Regions from separate parts of the Homo sapiens genome. Here regions 1, 2 and 4 are each linked to region 3. Evidence: promoter capture Hi-C in human tissues and cell types (Jung and others, 2019). All regions are on one chromosome and are shown on one strand. The core of a region is centred on a gene start or on the middle of the fragment in contact, and the rest is flanking DNA. Distances in the headings are between cores, read along the strand shown.

Region 1 (5,917 bases), core at 1,431-3,930, 68 kb before region 3:
AAGTGCTGATTGGTGCATTTACAATCCTCCAGCTAGACATAAAAGTTCTCCAAGTCCCCACCAGATTAGCTAGATAGAATGCTGATTGGTGCATCTGCAAATCCCTAGCTAGACACAGAGTGCTGACTGGTGCATATACACTTCTCCCTCTAGACATAAAAGTTCTCCAAGTCCTCACCCGACCCAGGAGCCCAGCTGGCTTACCCAGTGGATCCCCTGCAGGGGCCACAAGTGGAGCTGCCCGCCAGTTCTGCGCAGCACGCCTGCACTCCTCAGCCCTTGGGCACTTGATGGGACCGGACGCTGCAGTCGTGGAGGGTCGGGCCCGCAGGAGCCCACCGTGCAGGTTGGGGGGGCGGGACTCAGGCATGGCGGGCTGCCGGTCCCGAGCCCTGCCCCGCCAGAGGCGGCTGAGGCCTGGCAAGAAATCGAGCAGGGCGTGGGTGGGCTGGCAGTGCTGGGGGACCCCACGCACCCTCCACAGCTGCTGGCCTGGGTCCTGCGAGCGCCACCACAGTCCCGGTTCCCACCCATGCTTCTCCCTCCACAGCTCCCCACAAGCAGAGGGATCCGGCTCCAGCCTCGGCCAGCCCAGACAGGGGCTCCCACAGTGCAGCGGCGGGTTGAAGGGCTCCTCAAGGTGGCCAGAATGGAAGCCCAGGAAGCACTGAGAGCGAGCACGGGTCACCAGCACGTTGTCACCTCTCAGTCTCATACTAAATTTGTTTTCACTGAGTCATGTTATGAATTATATAGTCACCCGCTTAAACATTTCAATGCTTTAACTGTCTTGAAAAATATAAAATAAAAAAATTAAAAAAAAAAAATCAGGGCTCTCATCCAACTCCCTGGTGGCTTCCGCAGGCATGTTTTTTGATGGCTGCTTCATGCTTCTGGGTTTCTTCCTTCACATGTTCTTCAGGCAAAGCTGGAATTCTCTTATTCCATGGTTCCCGGCAATCCTCAGGCTCCGGGTCCTGCTCTGCCTTCTGCTTGAGCGTCTGGGAGCGCAGCGGGGGCTCCTGGGGCATTCCCTGCTCCTGGCCCCATAGGTTCTGAGGGGCCTTTCTTCCGCGAGCCGGCTTTCCTCCATCGCTTCCCACAGGCTTTGCCCGCGACCGAACAGGGCGAGCAGGCATTTTCCTTCACGTAGGCCTGAAAAGCCACGTCACCCGCATCCCTGAAGGCGGCCCCACCAGCGACTACGGCTTGGGCTCCACGGCGCGCTCTGCCAGGGACCCCCCCCCCCCACCGCCGGTGCCCGAGTGGGCCGCGTAGGCGGGGCCCAGCCCATAGGCCGCCAGCTCCAGCCGCTGCAGCGTTCTACGCGGTCCGGGACGCACTGCGCAGACAACAAAGCTGCTGGAGGCGTCCCCAGGCTGGGCCAGCGGTGTGGCCTGGGTTCCTGCACCGAGTGGTGCAGCAGCTGCTTGGCTGGGCTGGGCAGCAGGTATAAGGACCTAGAGTTGCCGTCCTCCCTGGTGAACAGAATCGAGGAATGGTTGGGCCCGTTGGGGTCTTTGCCCAGATCCACCGCCTCCACCATGTTTGACGCCGGGCACCAGAGGAGCCGCCCCCTCCCGAGCGCCATGGCACGCACAGAGCGACTGACTGAGCCACTACTGATTTTTAAAAAGAAAATATTCCTCTTATTTGTGACAACATGGATGAATCTGGAGAACATCATGCTAAACGAATAAGCCAGGCACAGAAAGACAAATACTGCATGCTCTTAATTATATGTGGAATGCAAAAAAGCTTAACTCAGAAGCAGAGTAGAATGGTGACTACCAGAGGCTGGGGGCAGGGGAGGCAATAGGGAGATGTTTGCCAAGGAGTACAAAACTTTTGTTAGATAAGAGGGATATGTTACCATGCAAACGGTAATCAAAAGAAAATAGGAGTGGCTATACATATATCAGACAAAGTAAACTTTAAGTCAAAAGTTGTCCCTAGAGACAAAGAAGGTTATTACGTAATGATAAAAGGGTGTATTAAACAGGAAGATAGAATAATTGTAAACGTATATGCAACCAACTTTACAGCACCTAAAGTTAACATTGAGAGAGAAGAAAGGAGAAATTGACAGCAGTAGAACAATAATAGGAAACTTTAACACTCCACTTTCAGTATTAAATTGAATATCCAGGCAGAAAATCAAGAAATAGTGAACTTGAACAACACCGTTAGCCAAATGGACTTAACAGACATGTACAGAACTTTTCACCCAACAGCAGAAGAATACACATTCTTTTTAAGCTTACAAGGAACATTCTCCAAAATACATCACATGTGAAGCCACAAGACAAGTTTTAACAAATTTAAGGAGATCAAAATTGTATGAAGTATCTTTTCTGACCACAATGAAGTGGAACTAGAAATCAATAACGAAGAAAGGTGGACAATTCACAAATACATGGAAACTAACATAATCTTAAAAACTACTGGATCAAAAAGAGAATTTTAAATACATCTTGAACTGAATAAAACTGAAAAAACATACTAAAAGTTATGGGATGCAATAAAAGCAGTAGTATGAAGAAAGTTTGTAGTGATAAATGCCTAAATTTAAGAAGTGGAAAGATATCAAATAAACAACCTAACTGTACACATCAAGGAACTAGAAAAAGAAGAAGCAGCTAAGCCAAAGCTGGCAAAAGGAAGAAAATAATAGGGATTAGAATAGAAAAAAGTCAAACGGAAAGTAGAAAAACTATAGAAAAATACCAAAAATAAAAATTGCCTTTTAGAGAAGAATAAAATTGGCAAACTCTTAGCTATACTAAGAAAAAAAGTAAAGAAACAAAAGCAGAATTAAAGAGGAGACATTACAACAGATCCCTCGAAATAAAAAGGATCATAAGAGACTATTATGAACAATTATATGCCAACAAATTGGATAACATAGAGGAAATGGGTAAATTCCTAGAAACATACAACCTACTAAGGCTGAACCAAGAATAAATGGAAAGCCGGAACATACCAATTACAAAGATATTAAAGTAGTAATAAAATGCCTCCCAGCAAAGAAAAATCCAAGACCAATTGGCTTCACAACTGAATTCTACCAAACATTCAAAGAAGAAATAACACCAATCCTTCTTAAACTTTTCCAAAAAATAAAAATAGAGGAAACACTTCTAACCGCTTTATGAGTCCAGCAGTACTCTAATACCAAAACCAAACACACCACAAGTAAAAAAAACTACAGACCAATATCTCTGATTAACATACATGCAAAACATCTTTGATAAATTGCTAGCAAACCAAATTCAACAACACATCAAAAAGTTTATACACCATGACCAAGTGAGATTTATCATTGGGATACAAGGTTGGTTTAGTACATGCAAAACAATCAATATGATAAACCACATTAAGAGAATGAAAGATTAAAACCACATAATCATCTCTATAGATGCAATAAGCACATTTGATGAAGTTTAATATCCTTTCATGGTTAAAAAATCCAAGGAAAATAGATATAGAAGATGCTGTGGTATGAATGTTTGTGTCTCTAAAGTTCATATGTTGAAACCTAAACCCCAAAGCAATAGTATTAAGAGGTGTGGGCTTTAGGAGATGATTAAGTCAGGAGGGTTTCTCCCTCAAAAATGGGATTAGTGCCTTTATAAAAGAGGCCTAAAAGAGTTGTTCATCCTTCTACCATGTAAAAATAAGAAGATGCCATCTTGAAACAGAGAACAAGCTCTCACCAGACACTGAATCAGCTAATGCCTTGATCTTGGACTTATCGGCCTCCAGAACTGTGAGCAATAAATTTTTCGTGTTTATAATTTCTTATTTTAAGAGATTTTGCTATTGCAGCCCAAACAGATAAAGATGGCAGGAAATTTCCTCAACATAATAAAGGCCATTTATGACAAGTCCACAAAGAATATCATTATCAATGAGGGAAACTGAAGCTTCTGCTAAGGTCTGGTAAAAGAAAAGGATGTTCCTTCTTGCCACTTCTATTTAACACAGTACTGAAAGTACTAGCAAGAGTAATCAGACAAGAAAAAGAAAGAGAAGCCATACGAATCAGAAAGGAAGAAGTAAAAGTGTCTCTGTTTGCATATAATATGATCCTTTACTTAGAAAACTGTAAATATTCCACCAAAAAAACTTATTAGCAATAATAAATAAATTCAGTAAAGTTACAAGACGTGAAATCAACATAAAAATCAGCTGGTTCTATACACTAACAAAGAAATATCTACAAAGGAAGTCAAGAAAACAATACCATTTACAAAAGCTACAAAACGATAGGAATAAATCTAACAAGGGAAATAAAAGATCTGAACCACCTTTCCAAAGAAAAATTTTTTTTTAGAGATGGGGTCTTGCTATGTTTCCCAGACTGGTCTCAAACTCCTGTCCTCTAGTGGCCTCCCAAATTGTTGGGATTACAGGTGTGAATCACCATGCCTGGTTCAGGTAAAAGATCTGTATACTGAAAACTATAAAACATTGATGAAAGAAATTAAAGAGAACATTAATAAACAGAAAGAAGACCCCATCTCTACAAAAACAAAAAAAATCCTAAAATATTAGTCAGGCATTGCGGCACATGCCTGTAGTTCCAGCTAATGGGGAGGCTGAGGAGGGAGGATCACTTGAGCCCAGGAATTTGAGGGTTCCGTGAGCTATGATCACACCACTGCACTCCAGCGTGGGTGACAGAGTGAGACCTTCTCTCAATAAATAAGTAAATAAATAAATAAATAGAAAGATATCCTGTGTTTTGGTTTGGAAGAATTAATACTGCTAAAATTTCTATATATCCTAAATGATCGATAGGTTTAACACTACATAGAAATTTTAATGGCATTTTCCACAGAAACAAAAAATACTAAAATTTGTATAAACCCACAAAAAGTTTTAAATATCAAAATAATATTGAGACAGAAAAATAAGGTTGGAGCATCATACTTCCTGACTTCAAAATGTATTGCAAAGCTACAGAAATCAAACAGAATGCTCCTGGCATAAAAGCCAACACATAGACCAATGGAACAAAATAAGAAACTCATAAATAAACCCAAGCACATATGGCCAATTAATTGTCAACAAGTTCACCAGGAAGACAAAATGGGAAATTGATAGTCTCTTCAATAACTGATGTGGGTAAAACCGGACATCTGCCCGCAAAAGAAATCTGACCCCTATCTTACACCACACACAAAAACAAACTCAAAATGGACTAAAAGCTTAAAAAATAATACCTCAAAACATTTAAATTCTAAAAAAAATACAGGAAAACTTCTTGACATTAGTCTGAAAAGGATTTTTTAAAAAATAATTCACCAAAAGCACAAGCAATAAAAGCCAAAATAAGTAAGGGGCATTACATCAAACTAAAAAGCTTCTGCGTGCCAAAGGAAACAATCAACAAAATGAATAGGCAGCCAATCAATTGGGAGAAAATATTTGCAAGCTATATATCTTATAAGACTTTAGTACTCAAGATACATAAGGAACTAACACTCAACTCAATAGCAATGAAACAAATAATCCAGTTTTTAAAACGGGCAAAGGTCCTGAATAGACACATCTAAAAAGAAGACATACAAATGACTAACAGGAATATAAAAATGTCCAACATCATTAATCATCAGGGAAATGACAATCGAAACCATGAGATACCATCTCACAACTGTTAGGATAGCCATTATCAAAGAGACAAGATATAACAGGTGTTGGTGAGGGTGTATAGTAAAGAAAACCCATTGACACTGTTGGAAATGTAGATTGTTGCAGTCATATTGGAAAACAATGTGGAGTTTCCTCTAGAAATTTTAAAAAATAGAACTAATATATGACCCAGTAATCCCTCTTCTGGCTATATACTCAAAGGAAGTGAAATCACCACCTTGTAAACATATATGTGCTTCCATGTTCATTGAAGCATGGT
Region 2 (5,887 bases), core at 914-3,413, 120 kb before region 3:
GATTATGTGGTCAGTTTTAAAGTATGTGCTATGTAGTGATAAGAAGAATGTATATCCTGTTATTTTTGGGTGGAGAGTTATGTAGATGTCTATGAGATCCATTTGATCCAGTGTGAGTTCAGGTCCTGAATATCTTGTTAATTTTCTGCCTCAATAATCTATCTAATACAGTCAGTGGGGTGTTGAAGTCTCCCACTATTATTGTGTGGAAGTCTAAATCTCTTTGAAGGTCTCCAAGAACTTGCTTTATGAATCTGGGTGCTTTTGTGTTGGGTGCATATATATTCAGGATAGTTATGTTTGTTGAACTGAACCCTTTACCATCATATATTGCCTTTCTTTGTCTTTTTGATTATTGTTGGTTTAAAGTCTGTTTTGTCTCAAATTATAATTGCAACTCCTGCTTTTTCCTGCTTTCCATTTGCTTAGTAGATTTTCCTACATCCCTTTATTTTGAGCCTATGGATGTTGTTGCGTGTGAGATTAGTCTCTTGAAGACAGCATACCATTTGGTCTTGTTTCTTTATCCAGCTTGCCACTCTGTGCCTTTTAATTGGAGGATTTAGCCAATAAGGCAGTTTAAAAAATATTAATAAGAAATTTTCAGAAACATAAATGTAAAATTCCAATTAGAAATTTTATAAACTCCAAGCAAATGTTTTTTAAAAAACCTAATATATTATGACTGAATTGAGCTTACCCAGGAATAAAAGGTTAGGTCAACATTGGGATATGTATATTTATGTAAGTATTACCTTAATAAGTTAAAGGAGAAAATCTATAAGATTCTCTATAGATGTTAATAAAACATATATAAGTTTCAACATCTAACTATGATTTAAAACACTTGTGAATCCAGAAATAAAAGAAAACCTTTTATGAATTAGCAACAGAAGAGCAGTTCTTTCATCTGATAGAAAGCTATTTAAAAATACCCATAGCTACCATGATACATCATGGTAGGAGGTTTAAACCCAGGAACTTAATGAAGATAACTGCATTAAACATTGCTGTTCAACAATATGCTGGAATAGTAATCATTGCAAAAAAAGAAAGAAAGTGAAAAAAGAATTACAATTTCCAGGAAGGAAAAAATAGAATGCCTATTTCCAACAGGTTATATGATAATACACATTGGAAATCTGGATTAATCTACAGACAAATTCTTTCAATTTATACTTCATTATGTTCATAAAAATAAGATCAGTAAACAAAATACATTGCATTTTATACACCAGCAAAGACAGAAAAACAAACAAATATGCCATGTATAATAACACAAAATGTCACATAGAAATATATTTAATAAAATATTTTTATACTCTTATTAAGGATTAGATAAGTTTACTAAAATAACTAAAATAAGAGGAGAGACACATCTGGCCCTACTGAGCCCCACTGGTCAAGTAGCAACACAATTCCTGATGCTGTCTTTAAGCCTTACTCAGCGTGGGAGGCAAGTGCACACTGGCAGTTGACCATACAGGGAGCATCTGGCCCTGGCCAACCTCAGCAGCTGAGCAGCGACTCAGCCAGCCTTGGGTTCTCTTTGCATATTCCCTAGATAGGAAGACAATAGCAGCTCTGTGATTATCTACAGAGGGAGCATCTGATCTTGCCCAGACCCAGTAGCTATGCAGCAACTCAACCCACCATTGGTGTTCTGCTTAAGGCTACTCTAGACTAGGAGCCAAGCCCAAGTCCACACACATCTGTGGAGCATAGCCTCTGGCCCTGCCCACCCTGAGTGATCAAGCAGCAACCCCAGAAATCTCACCCAGCCTCAGAGCTCAGCACACGTCCCTGACCAACTACAGATTCCAAACAACAGTACCATCTAGCAAGAAAGACAACCTCTAACCCTGGACAATCAGGCAACTGCAGAGCCCAATCAGCAGCACCACCTGTCACAGGAGCACAGCCAGCAGTTCCATTTAATGTCAGAGCACAGGTAGTGGCCCAGCCCAACTAGAGAACCCAACACCCACATCTGCCTGTCTGAGGTTGCTACCAGTTGGCCTATTCAGAATCCCAGGCTATATTAAATAGTGAAGACCTCTTACTGAGAAAGAACACTTGCAAAGGCCAGAAAAGGTGGCCATTTCTTCAAATGTGCAGGCACCAACACAAAGACAGAAGGATTATTTTAAAAATCAAGAAAATATGACACCAAAAGAAACTAATAATGCTCCGGTAATAGACCCTGAAATATGCAAGTCTATGAGACCACTAAGAATTTAAGATAATCCCCTTAAAGAAGTTCAGGAAACTACAAGAAAATGCAGATAGAAAATAAATAACATTTGAAAAATGGTTAATGAACAAAAAGAAAAGCTTGACAAAGGAATAAAAACAATAAAATAGTTAAAATCCTAGAAATGATGAATACAATAACTGAACCAAAATATTAACTAGAAAGCTTCAACAGCAGACTTGATCAAGGCAAAGAATCACTGGGCTTGAAGACTGGATATTTTAAATTATCCAGTCAGAGAATAAAAAAGAAAAAAGAATAAAAAATGAAAAAGACCTATAGGAATTATTGGACACCATTAAGTGTACTGACTTTTGCATAATAGGAGTTTCAGAAGGAGATGAGAGAGAACAAGATCCCGAAGGCATATTTAAGAAAATAATGGCTGAAAATTTCCCAAATGTGGTGAAACACAAAAATATCCAGGTTCAGGAAGCTTGGATGTCATCAATCAAATTCAACCCAAAGAGGATTTTACCAAGATATATCATATTCCAATTATCAAAAAATCAGAGACAAAGAAAGAATACTGAAAGCAGCAAGAGAATGAACCATATCGCATTCAAGAGAGCCCCAATATGGTTTTCAGCCTTTCTCTTAGCAGCAATCCTGCATGCCAGGAAAGAATGGCATTATGTATTCAAAGTGTTGAAGGAAAAGATTGCCAATCAAGATTACATTACTAGCAAATCTGTCCTTCAGAAATGAGGGAGAAATAAAATCTTTCCCAGACAAACAAAAGCTATGGTAATTAATCATTATTAGATCTATTTTATAAATATTACTAAAGGGAGCCCTTTAACTAAAACAAAAGGATTATAATAACAAAAACATATGGAAGTAAAAAACTCACTGGTAAAAATAATATATAGTCATATTCAGAATTCTCTAATACAGTAAGGGTGGTATTTAAAGCTAATTTATCCCTACTGTCACAGTTAAAAGACAAAATTATTAAAAGCACCTATAACTAAAATAAATTGTAAAGAAATACAAATTACAAAACATGTAAATTTTGACATCAAAATCATAAGAAGTGGAAAGGAGTGAAAGTGTAGAGTTTTTGTATGTGATTAAAGTTATCAGAATAAAATAGCCTGTTAAAAGGATATTTTGTGTATGCCTCATGGTAACCACAACACAAAAAAACCACAGCAGGCGGTGGCTGGCAAGATGGCCAAATAGGAACAGCTGCGGTCTGCAGCCCCCAGCAAGATCAATGCAGAAGGGAGGTGATTTCTGCATTTCCAACTGAGGTACCTGGCTCATCTCATTGGGACTGGTTAGACAGTGGGTGCAGCCCACGGAAAGGGAGCTGAAGTAGGGTGGGGCATCACCTCACCTGGGAAGTGCAAGGGGTTGGGGAACTCCCTCTCATAGCCAAGGGAAGATGTGAGGGACTGTGCCATGAGGAATGGTGCACTACAACCCAGATATTATGCTTTTCCCATGGTCTTTGCAACTCATAGACCAGAAGATTCCCTTGGGTGCCTACACCACCCGGGCCCTGGGTTTTAAGCACAAAACTGGGTGGCCGTTTGGGCAGACACCAAGCTAGCTGCAGGAGATTTTCATACCCCAGTGGCACCTGGAATGGCAGCGAGACAGAACCATTCACTCCCCTGGAAAGGGGGCTGAAGCCAGAAAGCCAAGTGGTCTAGCTCAGTGGATCCCACCCCCATGGAGCCCAGCAAGCTATGATCCAAGGGCTTGAAATTCTCACTGGCAGCAGAGCAGTCTGGGGTCAACCCAGGACACTCGAGCTTGGTGGGCAGAGGGACATCACCATTACTGAGGCTTGAGTAGGCAGTTTTTCCCTCACAGTGTAAACAAAGCCACCAGGAAGTTCAAACTCTATGGAGCCTACTGCAGCTTGGCAAAGCCTCTGTAGCCAGACTGCCTCTCTAGATTCCTCCTTTCTGGGCAGGGCATCTCTGAAAGAAAGGCAGCAGCCCCAGTCAAGGGCTTAGAGATAAAACTCCCATCTCCCTGGGACAGAGCACCTGGGGGAAGGAGAAGCTGTAGGCACAACTTCAGCAGACTTAAACGTTCCTGCCTGCCTGCTCTGAAGAGAACAGCAGCTCTCCCAGCACAGTGCTTGAGCTCTGCTAAGGGACAGACTGCCTCTTCAAGTGGGTCCCTGACCCCTGTGCCTTTTGACTGAAAGACACCTCCCAGCAGGGGTCGACAGACGCCTCATACAGGAGAGCTCCGGCTGGCATATGGTGGATGCCCCCCTGGGACGAACCTTACAGAGGAAGGAGCAGGCAGCAATCTCTGCTGTTCTGCACCCTCCGCTGATGATACCCAAGCAAACAGGGCCTGGAGTGGACCTCCAGTAAACTTCAGCAGACCTGCAGCAGAGGGTCCTGACTGGTAGAAGGCAAACTAGCAAACAGAAAGGAATAGCATCAACATCAACACAACAAAAAGGATGTCCACACAGAAACCCCATTCGAAGGTCACCAACATCAAAAACCAAAGGTAGATAAATCCATGAAGATGAGGAAAAACCAGTGCAAAAAGGCTGAAAATTCCTAAAACCAGAATGCCTCTTCTGTTCCAAAGGATTACAACTCCTCACCAGCAAGGGAACAAAACCGGATGGAGAATGAGTTTGATGAATTGACAGAAGTAGGCTTCAGAAGGTGGGTAATAGCAAACTCCTTTGAGCTAAAGGAGCATGTTCTAACCCAATGCAAGGAAGCTAAGAACCTTGAAAAAAGGTTAGAGGAGCTGCTAACTAGAATAACCAGTTTAGAGAAGAAGATAAATGACCTGATGGAGCTGAAAAACACAGCATGAGAACTTTGTGAAGCATACACAAGTATCAACAGCCAAATCGATCAAGTGGAAGACAATGATATCAGAAACTGAAGATCAGCTTAATGAAATTAAACATGAAGACAAGATTAGAGAAAAAAAGAATGAAAAGGAACAAACAATGCCTCCAAGAAATATGGGACTATGTGAAAAGACCAAACCTACGTTTGATTGCTATACATGAAAGTGACGGGGAGAATGGAACCAAGTTGGAAAAGATTCTCCAGGATACTACCCAGGAGAACTTCCCCAACCTAGTAAGACAGGCCAACATTCAAATTCAGGAAATACAGAGAACACCACAAAGATACTCCTTGAGAAGAGCAACCCCAAGACACATAATCGTCAGATTCACCAAGGTTGAAATGAAAGAAAAAATGTTAAGGGCAGCCAGAGAGAAAGGTTGGGTTACCCACAAAGGGAAGCCCATCAGACTAACAGTGGATCTCTCTGCTGAAACCCTACAAGCCAGAAGAGAGTGAGGGCTAATAGTCAACATTCTTAAAGAAATGGATTTTCAACCCAGAATTTCATATCCAGCCAAACTAAGCTTCATAAGTGAAGGAGAAATAAAATCCTTTACAGAAAAGCAAATGCTGAGGGATTTTGTCACCACCAGACCTGCCTTACAAGAGCTCCTGGAGAAAGCACTAAATATGGAAAGGAAAAACCAGTACCAGCCATTGCAAAAACACACCAAGTTGTAGAAACTGCATCAACTAATGGGCAAAATAACCAGCTAGCATAATAATGACAGGATCAAATTCACACATAACAATATTAACCTTAAATGTAAATAGGCTAAATGCC
Region 3 (6,386 bases), core at 1,893-4,392:
GGAGCCAGGGGCAGGCAGGATCTGCCCTTCTGCGTGCAGCTGCAGCCACCCAACCCACAGCTGCAGACCTCAGCCTCCTGCTCCACGGAGGAGGCAGGAGCCAGGACAAGCAGGAGCCCTGCCCCTTCCGAATTGATGGGGCAGGAGCTCCCCGGGTGCAGCTTCGGCCACCCTCCCAGGAGCAGGACCCCGGCATCTGTGCATTCTGCACCTCCAGGGCCTGGGAAGAACCACCCTGTACCCAGCCCCCCAACCCCCATCCCTGCAGGCTCAGGGCTGTCTGCTTCCCACTGCCTGGCCTCTCTCTGCTCCCACTCTCAGAGCGGGGTTGGGGCCTAGCCAGGGACCATAAATGGCAGTGGGAGGCAGACAGAGTCCCTGGAGGGAGAAGGCGGGTCCCCAGTAAGGCCCCGCCTTCAGGCCAGGGAGGGCCTGAAGGCCTGGCTGCCAGTCCCTCTGACTGGAGTGGGGACTTGTGGTGTCTCCCTCTGGCTGCCCATGGACCAATCAGCATGCACTTCCTCCCCTCTGAGGTGCATAAAAGCCTGAGGCTCAGCCAGAGCAGGGCAGAGGATGGAGAAACGATGGGATGGCCAGCTGCAGAGAGGAGCTACCCTCTCTGCTGAGAGCTTCAGAGACCTGCAGAGGTGTTCAGAACAACTTGCCTGTGGAGAGGAGCCACTCTCTCCAGGGACTTCTGTCTGCTGAGAGCAGCAGGTGGCAGGAGGACCAGTGGGCAGAGAGGAGCTACCCTCTCAAGGGCCTTCTCTGCTGAGAGCTGAACACTCAGTGGGAGGGGAGGACTTACCTACAGAGAGGAGCTCACTGCAGATCACCTCTGAGCTGTTCTAGCATTCAATAAAGCTTCTCTGCATCTTCTTCACCCTTCACTTGTCTGTGTACCTCATGACCTCATTCTTCCTGGAGGCAGGACAAGAACTCAGGTGCCACAGAGGTTTCTGGGAAGAAAATTGACACCCAAAAATCCCACACAAGGACAGATGAGGGTCCATTCTCTCCAGTGGCACCTATAGTCCGCCAGGGGTTCAGCACCTACCTTCATTTTGGATCTGAGCCTTTATGCATTTACTGGGTCTTGGAATGGGAGGTTCGGCTGGCAGGGACAGCCGCTGTCTACATCTTTCCTACTGCATGATGCGCCTGATATGCAGGCGGTGGTGGCAGGTGGGGTCCCCCTCCCACATCCCACCAGGGCTGTGTCTAGGAGCCACAGAAGTGGACTCTGCCCATTTCTCTCTCTCTTTGCATTTCTGCTGTGACAATCTCACCTCTCCCCAGGCAGCATGGAGGAATCCAACCTAAGGGCAATGAAAAGTTTAGGCCATGTTCTCGTTTTCGAGCAGCCCCTCTCTACAAGTGCAATTTTCCTTCTCTTTCACTTCCCTATGTGGCATGCAAGGGCCTCTGCAATGTGGTCCCATCCACTTCTGTTCAACCTTCCCTTCCACTAGTGAGCCACACACTGGTCTGGCTAACCCCTAGCCTTTTCCTACCTCCCACATGCTAATCACCTCCCTCCACGAAGAATGTCTGTCCTCGCAGGCTCTGTCCTCCCGGGCTGCCCATGGCTTCCCTGATCCTACTGTTTATGCAGCATCCATCTTAAGTATACCCTGTCCTTGAGCCCTCCTCTGTCTCCCCAGGCCCGGGGAACTGCACCCACTGTTTGAGCTCACTGTTCAGCCCCTTTTGCTGTCCTAGGGACATCTGTTCACATTAATAAGCCTGGGTGCCCAGTCTCACCAGCCTGTCTGAGCACAGACAGTCACCTCCAGGTCCATGCCTGAAGCTTGCTGGCTCCCGTCTCCCACCCATGTAGCGCCCTGTCACCTGCAGAGGCCCCTCTACAAACACAGGCACTTCTGGGAGTCCCTGGGGTGTGCTACTGAGGCAGAAAATTTAAAAATACATATGCCTTCATTCACTCCAAGAAAAGTAACAGGCAAGGCAAGGGTTAAAAAGTAAAGGACAAGTTTTCCTCTGCCTATAGCAAGCCCACTGCAAGGACAGTTATAACAGTGTCCAGAAAGCCAAGGCCAAAGGAATGGGCTCCAGATACCCGCCGCCCCACTTCCAGAGCAAGGTTGAAGGAAAAAGAGAGAAAGACAAATTCTTTTACTGTTACTGTTTTCCCAGGCTTCTTAAGCATGATTGTGTTTTACAAATGTCTGTACTTAGCCAGTTCTTGTTTTTCTTTCAATGCAGCTACAAAGTCACCCGCTGTGCAAGGCCACAAGTTATGCTATGCTATAGATTATGTGACCTATCATGATTAGCTGCTTTTGTTTTATTTATTGTAAGTCCACTTACAAAAACCCCGCTCTGTCTTTGTTTAATGCTCAGCTTTTTGGATGTGAGTCCACTGAGCCGGTGTGTACCTAAAATAAACAATCCTCCTGTTCTTCACATCGGTCTCTCCGGTCCTCAGTTTCCCACAACACTGCATGTGCTTGAGCTGCTCGTGCCTCAGCTCTGGCCTGTTCCCTGGAGGGGACGTCAGTGTGGGCTGCAGCTGGGTGGCTGGTGCCTCAGTCCGCTAATGCCCAAGTTGCACCATGGCCTACAGTAAGATGGGGTGGGCTGGGCTGGGGTAGTGCTTGCTGCTTCTTTTCTGACCTCTTCTCCACTAGAGAAATCCCAATCCAGCACCCTCCTGCATTTCTAAGTTGCACGTGAACAGGTTTTGCAGGTTGCCTCACGACAATGCCCCCAGGATTTGTTCCTTACTGACCTTGTCCTGAGGAGAAGGTTATGGTGGGTTAAAAATTGGTCATCAGCCCCTTCCTCGTGGTTAGTTAGTGGAGACTGCAGTCTACTCTCTTTCACTGTTCGGGGACTGCTACCCTGCCTCCTTGGAGTCCGAGCTTCACTGGCACAAAGACCCTGAACCCAGCTGGAGCGTTTTCTCCTCACTTTGAGCCTCTGCAGCTGTCGCTCTCTACAAAGCTCTCAGATACCTTTCCCCTCCTTCTGTGACCCTGGAGAGATATTTTACATGGGAATTCAAGATTTTTCTCAGAGACAGGATGTGACGACTTCCTTGTTTTGTTCTATCCATCTTGGTTTCCATAGCCAAGGGCAGAGCAAACGGCATATATCTTAGGGTGGAAGATGGATAAATAATTCTGTCACACGTGCCCTGGCCTCTGGAGCTCAGCTGCCAGTCCACGTCTAGGGAATCTTAGCATCTGGGACCAAGACACTTTACAGCAATCATCACCCTTTGCAGAGGAGGTGAGCTCACCAGGACTCATCTGCCATTTCAGACCTTTTGCTGCTACCTGCCAGGTAAGTGGCTCATTCTCAACAGCTGCCTACACCTCCATCTTTCAGAAACGGCAATCAGAAAATGAAGGTGGGAGGCTTTGGGAAGGCGTACAATTAGTGGCACCATTTTATTATCCGAGCTTGGCCGCAGCATGGGATGTTTCGAGTGTGGCCAAGAGGAGATGTCCACGCCCGTTTAGGTGGGCCGCATCTCAGGAGGCAGGATCCTGATACATCCCATTGCCCCCACCAGACGAAAAAGATTTCAAGCCTCATTGCGGTTCCCTTCTTGGGGCAGTCCATCTTCCTTAGAGACTAAGAGGGTGGAAATCCTCTTGTGGACCTATCGAAATCAAACCAGCGCAGGCAGTGAGCACTAGCTGGGGTCTGCCGGGGGGAAGGGCATTGCAGGGGGTGTCGGGGAGGCCCGTGGGAGAGGGCCAAGGCCCCACTGACACCTGCGGACTTGCAGCTTGGGGAGTGGAGGACAGGAGACAGGCAAAATTCACCAGTTACACAGCTTACAGAAGTAGCAAAGCAAAGACTATACTTCAGGGATAATTTCTGTACTTTGTTACTAGAGAAGTTTTCCACTCTGGGACCCCACAGTCTCCGCAGACATATGCAGAGCAAAAAATACTTCCTGTGTTTGGGAGAGCAAGAGACATGGCATTTATTAATAACATGGATTTTCCTGCCAGGTTTCATAACGTGGTCATTTAAGTGTGAAATGTAGTCTTAAAATTATGTTAGAGAATCCCCAAGGTTTTGCTCTGCCCCCATGGAAACACTGGGATCGCTCAGGACGCCAACAGCTGCATAGCAGGCGAGGGACTCCTGTGGGAGGACGTGGCCTGTGGACACTGCCAGGTTCGGAGATGTCCTTGGGAGATTTACTATTTGTCAGGAAGATAGTGTTAAGTTCAGGCAAATAATTATATGTGTGGACAGAATCTGAAATTCACCAATAGAGTAAGTAAGAGTGAGAGATTGTGAATGTGTAATACAAATGGAAAAGCAGGTTTTATTTTGTTAAGTTATTCACCAGGGAACCAACTGAAGTTCCTTCTAATCCTCTTTTTCTCCATTCTTGCTTTGCTGAAAGTTGGAGAAAAGGACATGTGTAGAGAAAATGGGATGCTTCAGGGTGGCTCAGAGGACACCAATCCATAGTGATTCGCCTGAGTTTGTCAGGTGGAAGCAGTGATTTTTAAGAGTCACTGATTAAAAACAAACAGTCCTAAGTGTATTAGGGAGATGCCATTTATTTGTGAATCAAAAACTTTTCTCAGTCTCTTAAATTATGGTTTTCCTGTAATAAGAATGATTTATATTTTTAGTGAAAAGTTGTTTTCCTTTCAAATACAGACTTTTTAAAAAGACTTAGTTTGAGTAAGTACCTTTTCATTTGATGCTTTTCTTGTGCCTAACCTTAGGAAATCCAGAATAGTATTTGACAGAAATTATGTTTTCAACTTGCCTTTGACATCTGTCCCACTGCATTTTGCTTTAAAATTCTTTATTTAACAATAAATTATCTAAAAAAATAACAGTAGCAAAGCAAAAAGTACTCATCTTTAAAGACAGACTCGACGGAGGGACCGGAAATCAGAAAAACATCAGGGTTGTTTAGGAATTGCAGGTGCAGGAGGAGAGAACAGGAGTGGGGCGGGCTGGGGGCAATGAGAGAGCAAGAAGAAAAGAAAAATAAAAAGAGAAGGAGAAGAAAGAAATGGGCTTTTGCTGGGTGCAGGCAGTGACATTTCTCAGGACCCCTTATTTCTCCCTGTGCCTTCCGGAGGGAGCAGCCCAAGGCTCCTGGGAGGACAAGCAGCACGTGCCCGCCGGCAGAGCTCAGCTCCAGCTGGAGGACCCCTTTGTGGTCCTTGCGCACACTGGGTTTTCCTTCTTCCCCAAATATCCGACGCGTCCAGTCCCTTACTCCTTCCCCAGGCAAAACCTCCTCACCAGGAACAACCTGAAATCAATTTACACTGTAATCAAAATAGCAGAGGGTGGAAAGTGTTTCCTTCGAGGAGGGGACTTACGCTTCAAGTAAGGATTGAGCACCCTGGATCCTTAACTGAAGAGTGAGGTCAGAAAGGGCGGACGCACAGCAGCAAACGGGGAGGAGGGTGCTGTCCAGGAGCCGCTGACTTTTCCCTTCAGGAAGCTGCCAGACCATCTCTCTCTGCTAAAGGCTTTCAAGATGATACCCTTGAGTGTTGGGAGCAAAGGGACCAGGTACCTGTTCCTCCTGGCTCAGAAGATGCTCTTGACAAAGTCTTAGGGAGACCTCAGCTTTAAGTTGTTTTATCTGGCAGCGGGATTTTAAATTTTGTATTCATTAGTTGGCTGGTTGGCTGGTTTTGTGGCTGGCACCGTGTGAGCCGGTCGCTTCTTCAGTGCCTCTGTGTGATGGCAGGTTAGGGTGAGTGTTTGGTCTGTGGCCAGCTGGTTCCTGAGACGGTCATGGTTTTGGGTAACAGGAGTGACGGAAGGGTGTACCCAGACACACGACGTAGCTGGTGAGGAATCTGAATTCGAGAAGTGCAGAGCGAGGCTCTGGAACCAGACAGTGGGTGGAACCCCACCCCACCACTCACCCACTGTGTGCAGGAGCAAGTCACTCAGCTCCTGGGCCTCCGTTTCCTTATCTATAATTTGGACCTATTAGTAATAATAATAATAAAAATAATAATACTGAGGTATAGATAAGTGTTTGATAGATAGGAAGTACCCAATGCATGTTAGTTTTATTACTGTCAGCACGTGTGTGTGTGTGTATGTGTCTGTGTGTGTGCATCTGTGTGTGTGTCTATGTGTGTGTCTGTGTGTGTGTGCATGGGTGTGTCTGTGTGTGTGTGCATGTGTGTGTGTCTGTGTGTGTGTGTGTGTGTCTACAATCCTCCTCCCCTGAAGATTCCATGATGGGAATCACACGGGTGTATCACAACAGAGAACTGAGGTCCCTCTAGCACTTCCACGGTTCTGGAACATCCTGCCCCAATCCCCTGTCCCCAGGAGGTGGCAGCCTGCCCCCAGTCCAGGGAAATTGGAGTGAGTGCTCCTTCTGTGAGAAGGCCAGCTGTGGGACC
Region 4 (6,564 bases), core at 3,878-6,377, 94 kb before region 3:
CCTGGGAAACACAGCAAGAAGAAAGAGGTGGAAGGGAGGGAGGGAGGAAGGAAGGGAGGAAGGAAGGAAGGAAGGAAGGAAGGAAGGAAGGAAGGAAGGAGAGAAAGAAAGAACTAGTATATGCCAACAAGTTGGAAAATGTAAAAGAAGTAGATAAACTCATAAACACATGGAACATACTAAAATAGAGTCAGGAAAAACTAGAAAACCTAATCAGACTAATAATGAGTAACAAGAGTGAATCAGCAGTAGGAAGTATCCCAACAAACAAAAGCCCAAAACAAGATGACTTCACTGCTGGATTCTATTAAACTTTTAAAGAACTAACACCTTCTCTTCTTAAAGTATTACAAAAAGTTGAAGGGGTGGGAATTCTTCCAAACTCATTCCATGAGGACAGTATTATCCTGATGCCAAAATCAGAAAAGAATACAACAAAAAGGAGAATGCTACAGGCCAATATTCATTATGAACATAGATGCAAAAATTCTCAACAAAATACTAGCAATCCAAATCCAATAGCATATCAAAAAGAATATACACCATGATTAAGTGGGATTGATTCTAGGGATGCAAGGATGGTTCAACATATGGAAATCAATAAATTTGATATATCACATCAACAGAATGAAGACCAAAAAGTATATGATCATCTCAATAGACATTAAAAAATATTTGATGAAATTCAACATCCTGCATGATATAAACTCTCAACAGTTTAGATGTAGAAGAAATGTACCTCAACACAATCAAGGTCACATATGACAAACTCACAGCTAACATCATACAGAATGGGGAAAAGTTGAAAGCTTTTCAATAAGAACTGGAACAAGACAAGGATGCCCACTTTTACTACTCTTATTCAACAAAGTACTGGAAGTCCTAGCCGGAGCAATCAGGCAAGAGCAAAAAATAAATGGCATCTAAATTGGAAAGGAGAAAGTCTAATTGTCCCTGTTTGCAGACAACATGATCTTTATATAAAAAAACTAAAGATTCCATCAAAAAAACCTCTTAGAACTGATAAACAAATTCAGTAATGTTGCAGGATACAAAATCAACATATAAATTCAGTAGTGTTTCTACACACCAATAACAAACTAGTTGAAAAAGAATCAAGAAAGCAGTATCATTTACAATAGCTACAACAAAATAAAATACCAAGGAATAAGTTTAACCAAGGAGGTGAAGATCTATACAATAAAAACTACAAAACATTGATGAAAAGAACTGAAGGGAACACAAACAAATGAAAAGATACCCCATGTTCCTGATGTAAGAGAATTAAGATTGGTAAAATGACCACACTACCCAAAGTGATCTACAGAGTCAATGCAATCCTTATCAAAATACCAATGACATTCTTTAAAGAAATAAAAACCAAAATCCTAAAATTCATATGGAGCCACAAAAGACTCCAAACAGCCAAAACATTACTGAATAAAAGAACAAAGCTGGAAGTATCACACTATGGAGCTTCAAAATACACTACAAAAGCATGCTAGCCAAGACAGCGTGGTACTAGCATAAAAGCAGACACACAGAAGAATGAGACAGAATACAAAACCCAGATATAAATCCACATATTTACAGTCAGCTCACTTTTGAGAAAGGTGCCAAGAATATATATTAGAGAAAAGAGTCTCTTCAAAAAATAGTGCTGCATTTGCTAGTATCAATATGCAGAAGAATGAACTAACCCCTATCTCTCACCATATATAAAAATAAACTCTTGATGAATTAAAGGCTAAAATGTAAAACCTGAAACTATAAAGCTACTAGAAGAAAACATAGGAAAAATGCTTCAGGACATTGGACTGGGCAATAATTTTTTTTTATGTGATTTCAAAACCACAGACAATAAAAGCAGAAACAGACAAGTGTGATTATATCAAACTGAAAAGCTTTTGCACAACAAAGGAAATAATTAACAGAGTGAAGAGGTAACTTACAGAATGGGAGAAAATATTTGCAAACTATACATCTGACTAGGTATTCATATCCAGGATATAAGGAACTCAAACAACTCAAGAGTGAAAAAACCCAAATAATCCAATCACAAAAGGGAAGATAGACTTTTTTTTTTTTTTTTTTTTTTGAGGCAGAGTCTCGCTCTGTCGCCCAGACTGCAGTGCAATGGCGCAATCTTGGCTCACTACAACCTCAGCTTCCTGGGTTCAAGTGATTCTCCTGCCTCAGCCTCCCGAGTAGCTGGGATTACAGACACCATCCACCACACCCAGCTAATTTTTATATTTTTAGTAGAGACGGGGTTTCACCAGGTTGGCCAGGCTGGTCTCTAACTCCTGACCTCAGGTGATCCATCCAGCCTCCCAAAGTGCTGGGATTACAGGCATGAGCCACCGTGCCTGGCCAGGATGATAGACCTTATATACATTTCTTAAAAGAAAACATACAAATGAACAACAGATATATAAAAATCTGTTCAGTATCACTAGTCATCAGGGAAATGCAAATCAAAACTACAATGAGATAAAACATTACTCAAGTTAAAATTGCTATTATCAAAAAGACAAAAGATAACAATTGTTGATGTGGAGAAGAGGAACACTTACACACCATTGGTGGGATTTTCAATTAGTGTGTTCATTATGGAAAACACTATGGAGATTTCTCAAAACATTAAAAACAAAACTACCATAGATCCAGCAATCAAAGTACTGAGTATACCCAAAAGAAAGAAAATCAACATGTTGAAGAAATCTGCACTCCTATGTTTATTTCAGCACTATTCACAATAGCTAAGATATGGAATCAACCTAAGTGTTTATTAACAAATTAATGAAAAGCAAATATGATGTATATACAAAATAGAATATTATTCAGTAATAAAAAGAGTGAAATCCTATTATTTGCAACAACATGGATGAACTTAGAAGACACTACGTTAAGTTACATTAAACCATACATGATCTCACCCATAAGTGGAATCCAATAAATGGATCTCATAGAGGTACAGAATCTAGAAGACATTAAGTAAATTAAGCCAGACACAGAAATACAAATATCACATGATCTCACCCACATATGGAATCCAAAAAGTTTATCTCATAGAAGTAGAGAAGTAGGGGTTACCAGAGACTGGTGGAGCTGGGGATAGGGTAGAGGGAGGAATGGAGAAAGACTGGCCAATGCATACAAAGTTACAATTAGATAGGAAGAAAATGTTCTGGTGTCCTGTTGCATAGCAAAGTGACTATAGTTAACAAGAATGTATAGTATATTTCAGAATAGCTAGAAGAGAGGATTTTGAATGTTCTCACCACAAAGACACGACAAGTGTTTGAGGTGATGGAAATGATCATTACACAATGTATACATGTATCACGACATCACATTGTACCACATAAATATGTACAGTTATTATGAGGCAATTAAAATTCTTTTAAAAAGCTGATCTCATAGAAGTAGAAAGTGGAATAGTGGTTACTAGAGGCTGGTAAGGGTAGAGGGATTGCAGGGGATGAGGAGAGGTTGATCAGGTACAAAATTATATTTAAATAGCAGCAATAAGTTCCAGTCTTCTATTGCACAGTAGGGTAACTATAATTACCAATAACATATTACATATCTCAAAATAGCTAGAAAAGAGGATTTTGAATGTTCTCACCTTAAATGATCAATGTTTTAGGTGATACCTTAATTTGATCATTACATATTGTACACATATATCAAAGCACCATTTTGTACCCTGTAAATATGAACAATTATTACATCAATACAAAGTAAAATAAAACTTAAAAAACTGAACACAAATAAAGGAAATATATTCCATGTTCAGGGATTGGAAGGATTAGCATTGTTAAAATGTTTATACTACCCAAAGCTATTTACAGATTCAATACAGTCTCTCTCAAGATTCTAACGTCACTTTTCACAGATAAAGAAAAAAGGAATCCTTAAATTCATATGGAATCACAAAAGATCTCAAATAGCCAAAGCAATCTTGAGCAAAAATAACAAAGTTAGAGTCACAATACTCTGATTTCAAAATATAAAGTGATTATAATTAAAACGTCCTGGGGCTGGCACAAAAGCGGACACATCACTCAATGGAACAGGATGGAAAGTTTGGAAGTACGCCCATGTGTTTATGAACAATTGATTTTTGAAAAAGGTGCCAAGAACACAGGATGAAGAAAGGACAGTCTCTTCAATAAATGATATTGAAACAAGTGGATATCCACATGCACATGTGTGAAATTGAACCCTTATCTCACACCATGTACAAAAACGAACTCAGATTAAAAAGTTAAACATAAGACCTGCAACTATAAAACTGCTAGAAGAAAATATATGGGCAAAGCTCCATGACATTGATCTTGGCAATAATTTTTTTGAATATGACATAAAAAGCACAGACAAAAAAGCAAAAATAGACAAATGGGATTACATCAAACTAAAAAGCTTCTGTACAGCAAAGAAAACAGTTAACAAGGTGAAGGACTACCCACAGAGTGAGAGAAAATATTTGCAAACCAAACAGCTGATAGAGGGTTAATAACCAAAATATATAAGAAATTCAAACAGCTCAATAGAAAGAAAACAAATAACCTGATCTTAAAAAAGGGGAAAGGACCTGAACAAACATTTCTCAAAATTACATTTAAGTGGACAACAGGGAGAGTGTAGGCTTGCGCTAACTCTCTTCTTTCACCTAGTTGCACTCCTGAGAGCAAGATGGGTCACCAGCAGCTGTACTGGAGCCACTCATGAAAATTCGGTCAGGGTTCTTGCTCTTGTCGAGTCTGATCCGGAAATATGGCCTCAATATGTGCTGGCAGTGTTTCCATCAGCACGCAAAGGACATATGTTTCATTAAGTTGAACTAAGTGCTCTTCCTTGAATGGATTATCCAAGGCATCTACGCAATGAAAAACCATGATAGCTCTTTGTACATAAAATAAACATTAATAAATAAATAAATAAATAAATAAATAAATGGACAACAGGTACATGAAGAAATGCTCAGCATCTCTAATCATTGTGGAAACGCAAATTAAACCACAATGAGATATCACCTTACACCTCTTTGAATGGCTATTATCAAAAAGATTAAAGATAAGTGTTGGCAAGGATGCTGAGAAAAGGAACTCATACATTATTGGTGGGAATGTAAATTAGTATGGCAATTATGGAAAACTGTATGGAGTTTTCTTAAAAAACTAAGAATAGAACTACTCTATGATTCAGCAGTCCTACTTGTGGGAATATATGAAAATGGATTGTAATCAATATGTTGATGGAATAGCTGTATTACTCACAATTGCTAAATTCAGTCTAAGTGTCCATCATTCAGATGAATGGATAAAGAAAATGTGATCTATAAATACAATGGAATACAATATTTAGCCTTTAAAAAAAGGATGGACATTTTGTCGTTTGCAACTCCGAGGATAAACCTGAAGGACATTATGCTAAGTGAAATAAGCCAAGCACAGAAAGATGAATCTCTTGTGATCTGATATATGTCAAAGCTAAAAAAGTTGAACTCATAACAATAGAGAGTAGAATGTTACCAGAGGCTGGGGCAGAGGGCAAGAGAGAATGGGGAGTTGTTGGTCAAAGGGTGCAAAGATTGAGATAGACAAGAGGAATATGTTTTGAAGTCTACTGAAGAACAGGGTGACTGTAGTTAACAATAATATATTGTATATTTCAGAATAACAGAAAGAATAAAATTTAAATGTCTCATCATAAAAATGATAAGTAAGGGAGATGATGGATGTCTTAATTAGCTTGATTTAATCATTCCACATTGTAGGCATGTATCAAAGAGTCACACCGTACCCATTAATATGTATGTGATTTGTCAATTTAAATAATAGTAATAAAAGGAGGGAAGAGATAGTTTTTCAGACAAGATGCAAATATTTTAAGACATCAGTTCTCTCTGAATTGATCTATAGATTCAATACAATTCCATTCAAAATCTCAGCAGAATTTTCTTAGAACTTGACAAGTCAATACAAAAATTTATGTCGCAGAGCAAAGTTGCCAAGGCACAACTGAATAAGAAGTGAGGAAACTTAGTCTAGTTTATACCAAGACATATCCCGGAACTGTGGTGATTAAGCCACTCAAAATTATTGGCACAAAAGTGGACAAGTAGACAAATGACACAGAGCAGAGAGCCCAGAAACAAATCCAAACCTAAACAGAAAGCTTATTGGGTCAGAGGTGATGCTGCACGTATCAGTGTGTAAAGGAATGTCCATTCAATAAATGTTGGCACAGTCGTTATCTGTTGAGAAGAAAATTAAATAGAACCACTACCTCATTTTATAACAAAAGTACAATCAAAGTATTAAGCCTATAGGAGAATTTATAGAAACCTATTTCTTCCATTGTGGGGAACAAGGTGACTCCTTAAAGAAGAATTGAATTGTGTCTTTTGTTCACCAATAACTAAAATGTCTGTGGGATTGTTTTTCAGATACCTTTTTCGAGCCTATATCGTGGCACCTGGCTACCAAAGTACTGGGAATACTCTGCTGTGGCCTATTTTTTGGCATTGTTGGACTGAAGATTTTCTTCTCCAAA

What was found. The method cuts DNA at HindIII sites, captures the fragments that hold promoters and counts their contacts. A contact is called where the count stands out against the background at its distance.
Region 1: a fragment that was not itself captured here is called in contact with the fragment with the promoter of BTNL9 in region 3 in 4 of the 25 tissues and cell types used here (H1 embryonic stem cells, lymphoblastoid cells, mesenchymal stem cells and 1 more).
Region 2: a contact is called between a fragment that was not itself captured here and the fragment with the promoter of BTNL9 in region 3, in 4 of the 25 tissues and cell types used here (H1 embryonic stem cells, dorsolateral prefrontal cortex, liver and 1 more).
Region 4: a contact is called between a fragment that was not itself captured here and the fragment with the promoter of BTNL9 in region 3, in 5 of the 25 tissues and cell types used here (dorsolateral prefrontal cortex, heart left ventricle, mesenchymal stem cells and 2 more).

What each region holds. Positions count from the first base shown.
Region 1 is chr5:180,969,217-180,975,133 of GRCh38, forward strand. No RefSeq gene overlaps it. Among named protein-coding and RNA genes, the nearest start is that of BTNL3, 17 kb to the right of the region's middle. The HindIII fragment of the contact is 3,778 bases long and covers 792-4,569 here.
Region 2 is chr5:180,922,610-180,928,496 of GRCh38, forward strand. The region is part of intron 3 of BTNL8 (butyrophilin like 8); the gene reads left to right. Among named protein-coding and RNA genes, the nearest start is that of BTNL8, 26 kb to the left of the region's middle. The HindIII fragment of the contact is 3,989 bases long and covers 170-4,158 here.
Region 3 is chr5:181,037,124-181,043,509 of GRCh38, forward strand. BTNL9 (butyrophilin like 9) reads left to right here and starts at 3,143. Exons shown (of 11, transcript NM_152547.5): 1 at 3,143-3,309. It overlaps MIR8089 (microRNA 8089), which reads right to left and starts at 6,361; the gene lies at 6,280-6,361. RefSeq lists an enhancer at 1-586. The HindIII fragment of the contact is 13,573 bases long and covers 1,338-6,386 here.
Region 4 is chr5:180,941,055-180,947,618 of GRCh38, forward strand. BTNL8 (butyrophilin like 8) reads left to right here. Exons shown (of 8, transcript NM_001040462.3): 4 at 6,458-6,564. It also overlaps the pseudogene RPS29P12. Among named protein-coding and RNA genes, the nearest start is that of BTNL3, 45 kb to the right of the region's middle. The HindIII fragment of the contact is 3,923 bases long and covers 3,167-6,564 here.